4 separate regions of the Homo sapiens genome follow, and regions 2, 3 and 4 are each linked to region 1. The links are contacts of gene promoters, found by promoter capture Hi-C in blood cells and fetal thymus (Javierre and others, 2016). All regions are on one chromosome and are shown on one strand. The core of a region is centred on a gene start or on the middle of the fragment in contact, and the rest is flanking DNA. Distances in the headings are between cores, read along the strand shown. Region 1 holds the start of CNTN5 (contactin 5). Region 2 has its middle 200 kb from the start of LINC02553. Region 3 has its middle 110 kb from the start of ARHGAP42. Region 4 has its middle 340 kb from the start of LINC02713.

The links. Contacts are between HindIII fragments. The CHiCAGO score rates a contact against its expected background, and 5 or more counts as called.
Region 2: a fragment that was not itself captured here is called in contact with the fragment with the promoter of CNTN5 in region 1 in 1 of 17 cell types (endothelial precursors); the score reaches 5.1 in endothelial precursors.
Region 3: a contact is called between a fragment that was not itself captured here and the fragment with the promoter of CNTN5 in region 1, in 1 of 17 cell types (endothelial precursors). The highest score is 5.4, in endothelial precursors.
Region 4: a contact is called between a fragment that was not itself captured here and the fragment with the promoter of CNTN5 in region 1, in 1 of 17 cell types (megakaryocytes). The highest score is 5.7, in megakaryocytes.

The regions. Positions count from the first base shown.
Region 1 is chr11:99,019,410-99,022,300 of GRCh38, forward strand. CNTN5 (contactin 5) reads left to right here and starts at 1,540. Exons shown (of 25, transcript NM_014361.4): 1 at 1,540-1,861. The HindIII fragment of the contact is 2,136 bases long and covers 1-2,005 here.
Region 2 is chr11:97,462,422-97,465,312 of GRCh38, forward strand. No RefSeq gene overlaps it. Among named protein-coding and RNA genes, the nearest start is that of LINC02553, 200 kb to the left of the region's middle. The HindIII fragment of the contact is 3,822 bases long and covers 1-2,891 here.
Region 3 is chr11:100,572,805-100,575,695 of GRCh38, forward strand. No RefSeq gene overlaps it. Among named protein-coding and RNA genes, the nearest start is that of ARHGAP42, 110 kb to the right of the region's middle. The HindIII fragment of the contact is 8,040 bases long and covers 1-2,891 here.
Region 4 is chr11:97,614,428-97,617,318 of GRCh38, forward strand. No RefSeq gene overlaps it. Among named protein-coding and RNA genes, the nearest start is that of LINC02713, 340 kb to the right of the region's middle. The HindIII fragment of the contact is 191 bases long and covers 1,416-1,606 here.

The sequences.
Region 1 (2,891 bases), core at 290-2,789:
TTTAATGTGGTTATAAAAGTCCTGGTAGTTCTCTCTGTGAACCGACAGCCTGACAGAGGAGAAGAGCCAGTGGGGCAGAGAAAAAGCCACAGAAGGGGAATCTCCACAACGATCCCTCAGTTAACACATAAAGAAGATAACCTAGTTACTGGAAAGCAGGAACACGAATATAAAAAGTATGGAAGAGTGGAGAAGTATTAAATGCACACAAATTTGTCTTTGCTACAGAACAAGCAATCAGCCTAGATCCTGAGGATAGCGATTAAAAGCAGAGACTGGGTGTTTGTACATCATTGGATGAATGAGAAGCAGCCAAGAAACAGGAAAAGACTAATTTTAATTACCAGAAAAACTGCAAGAGAAAGAACACAGGGCTAGTGGTAGACGGCTTCCAGCTACAGGCTGCCTGGCACTGTACTCTCCTTGCCAATTAGAGCCAGTCAGACCCCATCGGGGGATTCAGTGAGCAGAAGAATCAGCGTCAGTCCAGGGTCAGGCTGCTCTCAAACACACATGAAAAACGGACACCAGCGGACACGGGGTGCGACCCTAGACTCCCATGCAGTTTCTTATACAGACACAGAGATAGAAAGCAGTACGTGGGATTTCCTTTCCATTAAATACAGGTGCAAACCACATTCTCTATGGAAATATATTGCAAAGGAAATGTTATATAATTTATTTAACAAATACCCAATTACCATCAGCCCAATCGTGGGAATTGGAAAACGACTCAAAGACTGAGAGGAAAAAAAAAAAAAAAGTAGAGAGGAGGACTGGCAGAACAATGGCACTAAAGCTGCCACACTGTGGATTTACTACCTGTGTTATTTTTCCAATTACAGCCATTGTAATATAAAAATTCCGAAAAAAAGGTTGCTGAGACCATTCCTTCGCTTTTTTTTAGAACTGAGTCAACACCCCAAATCAAAGAGAAATATAAACAGGCAGAGCCTGATAGTCCTTAGATGAAACGCGTAAGTGCAGAAACAAAAGAGAAGTGCTTCCCATTCAGGACTTAAGAAAATTCTGCAAAGTGAAAAAGTCCACTCTCAAACCGACCTAAGTGAACGCGTCAGTCTGTGCTGCTGCTGTCAGAGGTGTGAGCCGGGGACTACAGGAATCAGAGTGAAGACAGGAGCGGAGGAAGGGACTCTCGCCTGGATCTCCCGTGCCGACTCCAGCCAGCACGTTTGCTTTGTAATCTATGAATGTTAAATACGGAGGGGTTGCAGAGCAGAAACGCTCGGGGAAGGGGGGCAGGTCCTCTGTACTTAGCAGGGAAGGAAAATGCCGGTTGACTAGTGAGACGAGTGGAGAAACACAGAGCACCCTCCGGGAGGCGCACAGTTCGTTAAGCCCAGGGACATGCTCAATGAACCTTTGCAGCAAGAGGCAGTGAGGCGCTGGACGCGGGCGCCGGTGACAGCGCGGGCGGCCGGGGAGGGGCGAGGGGCCGCCCCGGGAGGACACAGCCAGTCAGAGGCGCGGGGCGCAGGGCGCGCGGACGCATTGGAGGAAAACACGCGAGCCCCAAACACACCAGCCGCAGGAGGCGCCGCACCTACTTCCCAATATAACCAACTACGGCGTGGGGGAGCGGAACTGCGAGAAGGCGGCAGCCAAAGTGCCATTAAAGCTCGGGGCGGAGAGGATGCGTTACCTGGGTCCCGTCTGCTGCGAGAGGCAGGGCAAGCTGGAGGATTCCCTCTGAATGATTAAGAACTCCGCAATTCGCCTCTGCCACAGGCTGCAAAGGACCCGAGGAACCGCTCTCTCTGAACTGTGCTGATGGGCAGGAGGATGGGAGACAGGAATTGAGAGTCACAGAGGAAGGACAGTGGAGTCTGGCATCTTATTGGTAAGTGGCTGACATTCCTTTGCCAGTGACTGCGTTCTGTGATTGTGCACTTCATCTCCCAGCCACTTAGGATTTTTGACACACTCTGTTCTGCAAAGCCATCCTTTCTTGCCATGTTGCCAGAATGTAAAAACTGTAAGATGAAGCTTTTTTAAATAAAGGAAACAAAACACGACTTTATTTCCTGCTGGGATTTTATGGCAAAAAGTTGAAACAAGAGTAAATATAACCTATTTGTATATCTCCTAATGCCACCCAAAATAAGAGTAAGCAATTCCTACACGCAAATTGCAAATTGTAAGGCAATAAATGCCAGGATAAAGTGAGGATGTTTCTACAAAAGAAACTAAATGTTTGGAAAATAGGATGCCGTTCTCAGGTACTGAATGTATGCCTTATGTTTGAGCAATGAGTTTCCGAGACTAAATAATTGGGCATCTGGCATTGCAATAACTTGTTAAAATTCAGTAGGGATGCTCTATAAGTGGAGTTCTACAAAGTTCGTGAGACTGAGAAAAACTGTATCTTGGATTATGCTGAGCTTTTTTCTAAAGGTTGTATAGGATTGTGATAGATTAAAAAATTATGTTCAGACATCCTTACCATGTTTTGTAGGGAGATATACGGAAGAGAATATCAATTTGCACATACACAAACCTGAGAATTACTCTGATGACCTGAACAATAAGTTGTTTCAACTATATTTATTTGCGAAAGAACCAGAATCCACTAAATATTTTAGAATTATATTACTTTTAAATCTTAGAACTGTTCTCCCAAGAAAAATACAATTTCATGTGGTAATTTAAATGCAGGTGAGAAGCAAAAAACTTTTAAACTGTTGTATGTTCAATGCCTTACCTACATTTCATTCATTTGTTTCTTAATTTAAAAGAGAAAATCATTTAGAGGGTCAATACTTCTACTTTGATTCTCAATTACGACTGTGGAAATAAGGATGAAAGAAGTAGATGTTCATTAGAATACTAGCATTTAAAATTATAGACAAATAGTCAAATTTAAAAATTAA
Region 2 (2,891 bases), core at 221-2,720, 1.6 Mb before region 1:
CCTAAGGGAGTTTCTGCCTCCCTTTTTATGTGCTGAACTCAGTGTCTTCTGTGTGGTTCTCCTGATGTGTTTTCTCTCCTTCTCTACAATTCTTCTACCTTTGGAGGCCTGTGAGAATAGCATGAATGGGCTGCCTCACCTGCTGGCTTCAGTGAGCTTCTGCCATTGGGAATTGTCAGAAATGAGGGAAGAAATCGGGGGTAAAATGTTATGTCCCTAAGTTCCTCCCTGTTGAGCTGCTTTATGCTCTGAAGATCTCAATTTTTCACAAAATGGCTTTATGTTCCACTAACTTCTCCTTCCTATTATCATTAAAACTTAGAAGATGATGTCACTTCAGTCTTCCAAGAAGTATGTGCCAAAATGGAATTAGACATGTGATATGGTTTGGCTGTGTCCCCATCCAAATCTCATCTTGAATTATAGTTCCCATAAACCAGATGTGTCATGGGAGGGACCCAGTGGGAGGTAATTGAATCATGGGCATGGTTACCTCCATGCTGTTTTTGTGATAGTGAGTGAGTTCTCATGAGATCTGATAGTTTTATAAGGGCTTTCCCCCGCTTTCATCTGCACTTCTCCTTGTTGCCACCATGTGATGAAGGACATGTTTGCTTCCCCTTTCACCGTGATTGTAAGTTTCCAGAGGCCTCCCCAGCCATGCTGAATTGTGAGCCAATTAAACCTCTTTCCTTTAAAAATTACCCAGTCTCAGACTGTTCTTTCTTAGCAGAATGAGAACAGACTAATATGCTAAATTGGTACCAGGGAGTGAGGCACTGCTGTAAAGATACCAAAAAGTATGAAAGTCACTTTGGAACTGGGAAACAGGCAAAGGTTGGAACAGTTTGGAGGGTTCAGAAGAAGACAGGAAAATTTGGGAAACTTCTGAACTTCCTAGAGACTTGGTGAGCTAATAATAAATATAAATATGGGAATGTTTGGAACTTAGTAGAGACTTGTTGAATGGCTTTGACCAAAATGCTGATAGTGATATGGACAATGAAGTCCAGGTTGAGGTGGTCTCAGAAGGAGATGAGAAACTTGTTGGGAACTGGAGTAAAGGTGATTCTTTCTTTAGCAAAGAGACTGGCAGCCTTTTGCCCCTGCCCTAGAGATCTATGGAACTTTGAACTTGAGAGAGATGATTTAGAGTATCTGGCAGAAGAAATTTTGAAGTGGCAAAGCATTCAAGAAGAAATCAAGCATAAAAGTTTGGAAAATTTTCAGCCTGACCATGTGGTAGGAAATAAGAGCTCATTTTCTGGGGTGAAATTCAAGCCAGCTGCAGAAATTTGCATAAGTAATCAGAAGCAGAATGTTAATTACCAAGATACTGGGGAATGTGTCTTCAGGAGATGTCAGAGACCTTTACACCAGCCTCTCCCATCACAGGCCCAGAGGCCTAAGATGGAAAAATGGTCTCCTGGGCCAGATTCAGAACCCCCTTGCTGTGTGTAGCCTCAGGACTGTGTCCCAGCCACTCCAGCCATGGCTAAAAAGGGCCAAGGTACAGCTTGGGCTATGGCTTCAGAAAGTGCAAGCCCAGGCCTTGGCAGCTCCACATGGTATTGGTCCTTCAGGTGTGCAGAAGACAAGAATTGAGGTTGCAGATTTCAGAGGACATATGAAAACACCTGGATGTCCAGGCAGAAGTTTGCTACAGGGGCGGAGCCCTCATGGAGAATCTCTGCTAGGGCAGTGCAAAAGGAAAATGTGGGGTTGGGGCCTCCACACAGTCTTCAGTGGGGCAGTGCCTAGTGGAGCCATGAGAAGAGGGCCACTGTCCTCCAGACCTCAGAATGGTAGACCTACTGACAGCTTGCACTGGATGCCTGGAAAAGCTGTAGACACTCAATGCCAGCCCATGAAATCAGCCCAGTGTGCGGCTATGCCCTGAAGAGCCACAGGAGTGGAGCTGTTGAAGGCCATGGGAGCCCCCACCTCTTGCATCAGTATTACCTGGATATGAGACATGGAGTCAAAGGAGATCATTTTGGAACTTTAAGGTTTAATGACTGCCCTATTGGATTTCAGACATGCCTGGGGCCTGTGGCCCCTCTTTTTTGGCCAGTTTCCCCCATTTGGAATGTGTGTGTTTACCCCATGCCTGTACCTCCATTTTATCTAGGAAGTAACTAAGTTGCTTTTGATTTTCCAGGCTCATAGGCAGAATGGACTTGCCTTGTCTCAGATAAGACTTTGAACTTGGACTTTTGAGCTAATGCTGGAATGAGTTAAGACTTTGGGGGACTGTTGGGAAGACGTAATTGTGTTTTGAAATGTGAGGACATGAGATTTGGGAGGGGCCAGGGGTGGAATAATATGGTTTAGCTCTATGACCCCACCCAAATCTCGTCTTGAATTGTTGTTCCCATAATCCCCACATGTCATGGAAGTGATTCAGCAGGAGGTAGTTGAATCATGAGGGTGGTTACCTCCATTCTGTTCTTGTGATAGTGAGTTCTCCAAGTTCTGATGGTTTTATAAGGAGCTTTACCCCCAACTTTGCTATGTACCTCTCCTTGCTGCTGCCATGTGAAGAAGGATGTGTTTTTTTCCCCTTCTGCCATGATTGTAAGTTTCTTGAGGCCTCCTGAGTCAGGCTGACCTGTGAGTCAATTAAATCTCTTTTCTTTATAAATTATCCAGTCTTGGGTAGTTGTAGATTAGCAGCATGAGAGTGGACTAACACAACATGCAAGAGATTTAAAGGGGGTGATTTCTATAAAGGATAAGTCAATCAGGGGAACTCAGGATATGATGTAGGTCTGATACCTGTGCAAGGACAAGGGAAAGAAAGGAGGATGGGTAGGACGAGTTTCAAATTAAAGCACAATTCTTAGAAAAATTTAGCCACACTGGTAGAGAGTCTCCTAACCAAAATTTCC
Region 3 (2,891 bases), core at 189-2,688, 1.6 Mb after region 1:
CATTTTTAAAAATGCAATGAAATATTTTTGTCCAGCTATTTTTTAACTATTGCCTTGTTAAACAAGCTATAATCAATAATTTTCCAAGAAAGGAACAGAAAACTATCATTTCTAGAGTCCCAAATTAATGTAAATAGCTGTGCCAAGGAGTTTGCATGCTTCCTGGGGCAAAATCCGCCAGAGCATCAAGACAGGATCCAAACAGCATTCTGCTTTCATGGGGCTCTTTCATGTAGTGCCTAAGACGGTGCTCCTTAAACTTTAGTGTTCACACAAATCCCTTGGGAATCTTGTTAAAATGCAGCTTCTAATTTAAGAAGTCTGGGTGAGGGCCAGGCACGGTGGCTCACGCCTGTAATCCGAGCACTTTGAGAGTCTGATGCGGGTTGATTACCTGAGGTCAGGAGTTCGAGACCAACCTGGCTAATGTAGTGAAACCCCGTCTCTACTAAAAATACAAAAATCAGCCAGGTGTGGTGGCACATGGCTGTAATCTCAGCTGCTCGGGAGGCTGAGGCAGGAGAATCACTCGAACCTGGGAGGCGTAGATTGCAGTGAACTGAGATGGCGCCACTGCACCCCAGCCTGGGCGACAGAGAAAGACTCCACCTCAAAAAGAAAAAAAAAAAAAAGAAGAAGTCTGGGTGAAGCCTGGGATTCTGCATTTCAAATGAGCTGGCAGGTGAAACGAATGCTGTTGGCCTGCAGATCACACTTTTGAGAAGCAAAGGTCTACCGCAACACGTCTCTGCTGCTTCTAGTGTAGCACAGAGTCCCCATCAGCATGAAAGGACTGTAGACCTCAGAGTGGTCCACAAACCAACTCACGCTGTAGAAATGATTAGCAATGTTATACTATTTTATTTTACTTAGTTGTCCCATTCAAAACTTGTGAGAAAAAAATAAAATTTTAATTTTAATAGATGGGACATATCAAACAAAAAGGATTTCTTATGACCTTTGAAACATCTTACTGTTTGGCATAAGCCAACTGCTTAGGATGAGCAAGTACTACTCTGCAGTTCCTCATTGGCCCAATCTGGTTTAGGTCTTTAACAGCAGTTGAGTTGAAGAAAACAACCCTTTCTTCTGGGATTAAGGTGTCCTCCTCATTTAGGACTAGAGCCAGTGAGTGAGAACACTTGGATTCTAGTCTTAGCACTGTCATTTAGGAGCAGCACGACTTTGGGCAAGTTATTATAGGCTCCTGGCTCTCAGACTCCTCATTTTTTAAGAGTAGCTCATGAGCTGGTAGCAAGAACATTCCGGCTGTAACATCTGAGGCTGATTACACTGACTGGGCAAGCTGCAGATGTCTGCCATATTTGTACTTTATCCTCAGAGCCTTGGGGAGCTACTGAAGGCTTAAAAATAGGAGAACAATACAATACAACATGAAGGGATTAACACAAGAGGATGAGAGGAAATCCCCCAGTTTGGCCAACAATTGGCCAAATGATATTTAACTATGCGCAGCTGCCAAACTTAAGTCAAATTTCACTTACGGTAACCAGCAGAAGAGAATCATTCCAAAAAGCAAGGCCAGACTTGTGTTTACTCTTCAAACAAATAATTGATTTTACAAAAAAGAAAAGAAAAGAAAAAAAAAAGCTGGGCATGGTGGCTCATGCCTGTAATCCCAACACTTTGGAAGGCCAAGGCAGGCAAATCACCTGAGGTCAGGAGTTTGAGACCAGCCTGGCCACCATGGTGAAACCCCGTCTCTACTAAAAATACAAAAATTAGCCAAGTATGGTGGCACACGTCTGTAATCCCAGCTACTCGGGAGGCTGAGGCAGGAGAATTGCTTGAGCCTGGGAGACAGAGGTTGCAGTGAGCTGAGATCGTGCCATTGCACTCCAGCCTGGGTGACAGAGCGAGACTCTCTCTCAAAAAAAAAGAAAAAAGAAAAGAAAAAAACCTTGATTAGAGGTAATTATATAATATCAGTTATTGCAAGTGTTTAAATGTTTGTATATGCTTGAATTATATTACACAGGAATTCCATATCTGTAAACCAAACTCAGGCATTTCATATGCTAAGGCCTGTGATCAAACATTAAAATCTGATTCTAATTAACACTTCCCTCTTGGAATTAATAATGACAACAATTATTTATTGAGTATCTCTTCTGTGCTGGGTGCCTTACATGCATTGTCTCGATTTACTCTCCCAGCAACTGCAATGAGATAGATATTACCATCCCCATTTTATAAATTAGAAAGCAGACTCAGGGAGTTTAATTAACTTGCCAGAGGTTATACAGGTGGCTGAGCTGGATTTTGAACTCTGGTCTATCTGACTGCTTGGCTCTTAACTTCAGGCTCACTTAAAACAGAAAGCAAGCACAGGCAAATTTGCCAGTTGTTAGTCAATCAAAAATCATGCATATTAAATATCTAGACAATCTGTAACCACCCATAAGTGTATCACATACTTGGTGAGGTGAGTCTCACTGTGAGTGACATGTCATATTTTATGGTATTTGTCTAAGAATGAATAATCTTGACTACAACCTTGCATATATTCTTAGATTGCCAGTTTTATATTCCCTTTGGATGCATATAGTTAAGATTTCAATATATATCCAAATAAATATGTTTGCTGTCATGCATAAGTAGTAGATATTGAACATCTATAAATTTACTTATTTTGTGTGTATTTAATTTCAGGATCATCTATCCATATGTGAATCTTTTTTAATTGATCATTTCTTAAAAAATAAGGTCATGGAAAGATAAATACATCTATGACTGTATTTCATAGGTACCACAGTGACATCTTGTGGGAAAAGCATGTTGAGTTGTTTCTGTGTGTTTTTGAGTATTTCAGAACTACATTTTCTATTGACAAAGAGGAAACTGTCATCTGACTGTGAATTTGAGATGTT
Region 4 (2,891 bases), core at 261-2,760, 1.4 Mb before region 1:
CCTCCTTTGTCCTGTTACTGTCATGTGAATTATGTCTTTATTGTGTGGCCATCAACATAGATGTATAATTATTTGTCTGTTTAATCAGATAGATAAAAATGCAAACAAATATATTTGTACATAGTCTTTTATGTAATTATCTCTATCACTATTCTTTATTTCTTGATTTGGATTCAAGTAGCTGACTAGTATTCTGTCATTTCGGCCTGAATGATACCTTTAGTATTTCTTGTAAGGCATATCTGAATGATGACTTCTTTGTTTTTATTTATGTAGAAGTGACTCAATTTTTCCTTCATTCTGAAGTATAATTTTTCTGATTATAGAATTCTTCATGTGTAGTCATTTTTTTTTTTGCAGCGTTTTTAAGATGCCATTTTATTGCCCTTTGCTCTCTGTGGTTTTTAGAAGACATATTGGCTGCAAATTCTATTGAGAGTCCGTTGTATGTGATAAGTTGTTTCTCCCAGCTGCTTGCAGGATTTCTGTTTATCAGTGTCTTTTAACAGTTTGTTATAATGTTTCTGGGTGAGATCTATTTGATGGCATCCAATCAAATTTCATTGAGCTTCTTTGATGAATAGATTAACGTTTTCAGCAGTTGTTTTTCTCAAATATTTTTTTCTGTCTCTTTATCTCTTCATTTTTTCTGTGTCTTCCTTTATGCATATGTCAGTACACTTGATGGTGGCTCTCGGGTTTTTGAGGCTCAGTTTATCTTATGTTTATATTATTTTTACCTTTCCTCCTTCAGGCTGGATAACATAATTGTTATACTTTCAAGTTTTCTGATTCATTCTTCTTCTTGCCTAAATCTGCTGCTGAGCCACACTAGTACATTTGTAATTTTATTTACTGAATTTTTCACTCCAGAAATTAATTTTTCTCTTTTTAAAAGCACTTTAATCTCTATAGTCTTTCTGGGTAACAAACACATTGTTCTTATGCTTTCCTTTAGTTCTTGAGAAATGATTTTCATTTGTTCTTTGAATATTTTTAATAGTTGATTTTAAGCCTTTCTTTAATAAGTCCACTGAGTTTTCTCAGTGACAGTGTATAATTACTGCTTTTTCCCTTGTGTCGAACATACTTTGTTTATTTGAATGTTTTGCTTGTAGTTGAAAATTGGACATTCTAAATAATATAGTGTGGTAACTCTAGAAATCATATTCTCTTCCCTTCCCAAGTTATGTTGTTGTTTCTGGTTTTTTTGTTGTATTCGCTTGCTTAGTGAGTTCCGGAATTCTCTAATGTTTGTATTCTGTCTTGGCACTGACGTCTACTTTGTTGGCCTAGTGGTCAGCTAATAAATGGATAGTAATTTCCTTAAATGCCTGGAAGAAAAATACATCTCTTTGTCTTTACCGAGTGGCTCTGTGTTCATGTTGAAGCATACTGTGAGCAATCAGCAATGAAGCTTGGCCTTTCCTTTCTATTTGTGCAGAGTCTCTAGGAGCCAGATGTGAGAGATCAGGGCATTCTCACTTATTTTCTGAACAGATGCATCATTATGGGCATGTATAAATCCCTATATATGCATGTGGCCTTATAGATAACCAGCAATAAGTAGCTGCTCATTAAAGCCCATATAAACTTGTCATGACCAAGCTTTCACTTTTAAGCTTTTAGATTAGCCTATTGTTTGCCCAAACTTTTATTTATAACCTCAGGTCATGCCGAATGATATTTTAAAAATTGCCACTAATTATTTTCAACCAATGTGCCTACAGAAAAGGCTGTTAGTACTGGGCAAGCTCCAAGTCAGGTCAAATAAAGACCTGAGTCAGGAAACCCTGAAAGTGTGCGCTTCCAGGGAGCCACCAGATAAGTCAAACAAGGACAATTCTCTGGAAATGGTGCTTTGAAGAATCTCCAACATCATTATACCCTTTCATTGGTTTCCAAGCTTTTGGTTTTCAACATGATTGCAGGATGTTGATTTTCAAGGCTATCATTGAAACTGTCCCTATAAACTATAAAATTAATTAGGGGGTCAGGTGTGGTGGCTCATGTCTGTTATTTCAGCACTTTGGGAGGCCAAGGAGGATGAACTCCTGAGCTCAGGAGTTCAATACCAGCCTGGGCAATGTGGCAAAAGCCTGTCTCTACAAATAAAATTAGCCAGGTGTGGTGATGCACACCTCTTGTCCCAGGTACTCAGGAGGCTGAAGTGAGAGAATCACCTGAGCCCAGGAAGTTGAGGCTGCAGTGAGCCATGATTGTACCACTGCACTCCAGCCTGGGTGACAGACTAAGACCAACCCTGTCTCAAAAATAATAATAATAATAATCAGGGAAGAAGAGAGGGAGAGAGACAAAAATAGAGCAAGGTTGCAGCACATTCAGCATTAATCATTAGGTCGGCTTTCCCTCTGATCTGCTTCCTCATAGTTGTTTGGTGCCTGTTGTCCTAGTATCACATGGACCCTAAATTATAATTTTCCTTAACTGTTCTATAAATAACAACTTGAATATTACAAAACATAAAGTTTCCTCTTTGTGATATTCTTTCAGGTCCTGCATACTGAAGAAACTACTAACTCAAGCTGATCTTAAGGTCCCCACTGACAGCAACTGATCTGAAGGACTCCATGAGGAGGTGACTAACCAAAGAATACAGTTTCTATATTCCGAAGATTTCATCCTCCTTACCACAACCAATCAACAATCTCAATTTTCTAGTCCTCCACCCTCCGTGATCTTAAAAATCTCAGCACAGAGCTCCTCAGGAGATGGATTTGAGAGTCTTGTCCCATTTTCTCACTTGGCACCCTGTAATCATTACTCTTTCTCTGCTGCATCCCTGCTGTCTCAGTGTAATTGGTCTGTTACTGCACAGCAGGCTTACAAACCTGTTGGTCCTATAACATCTTGGAACCGGAGATAGAACA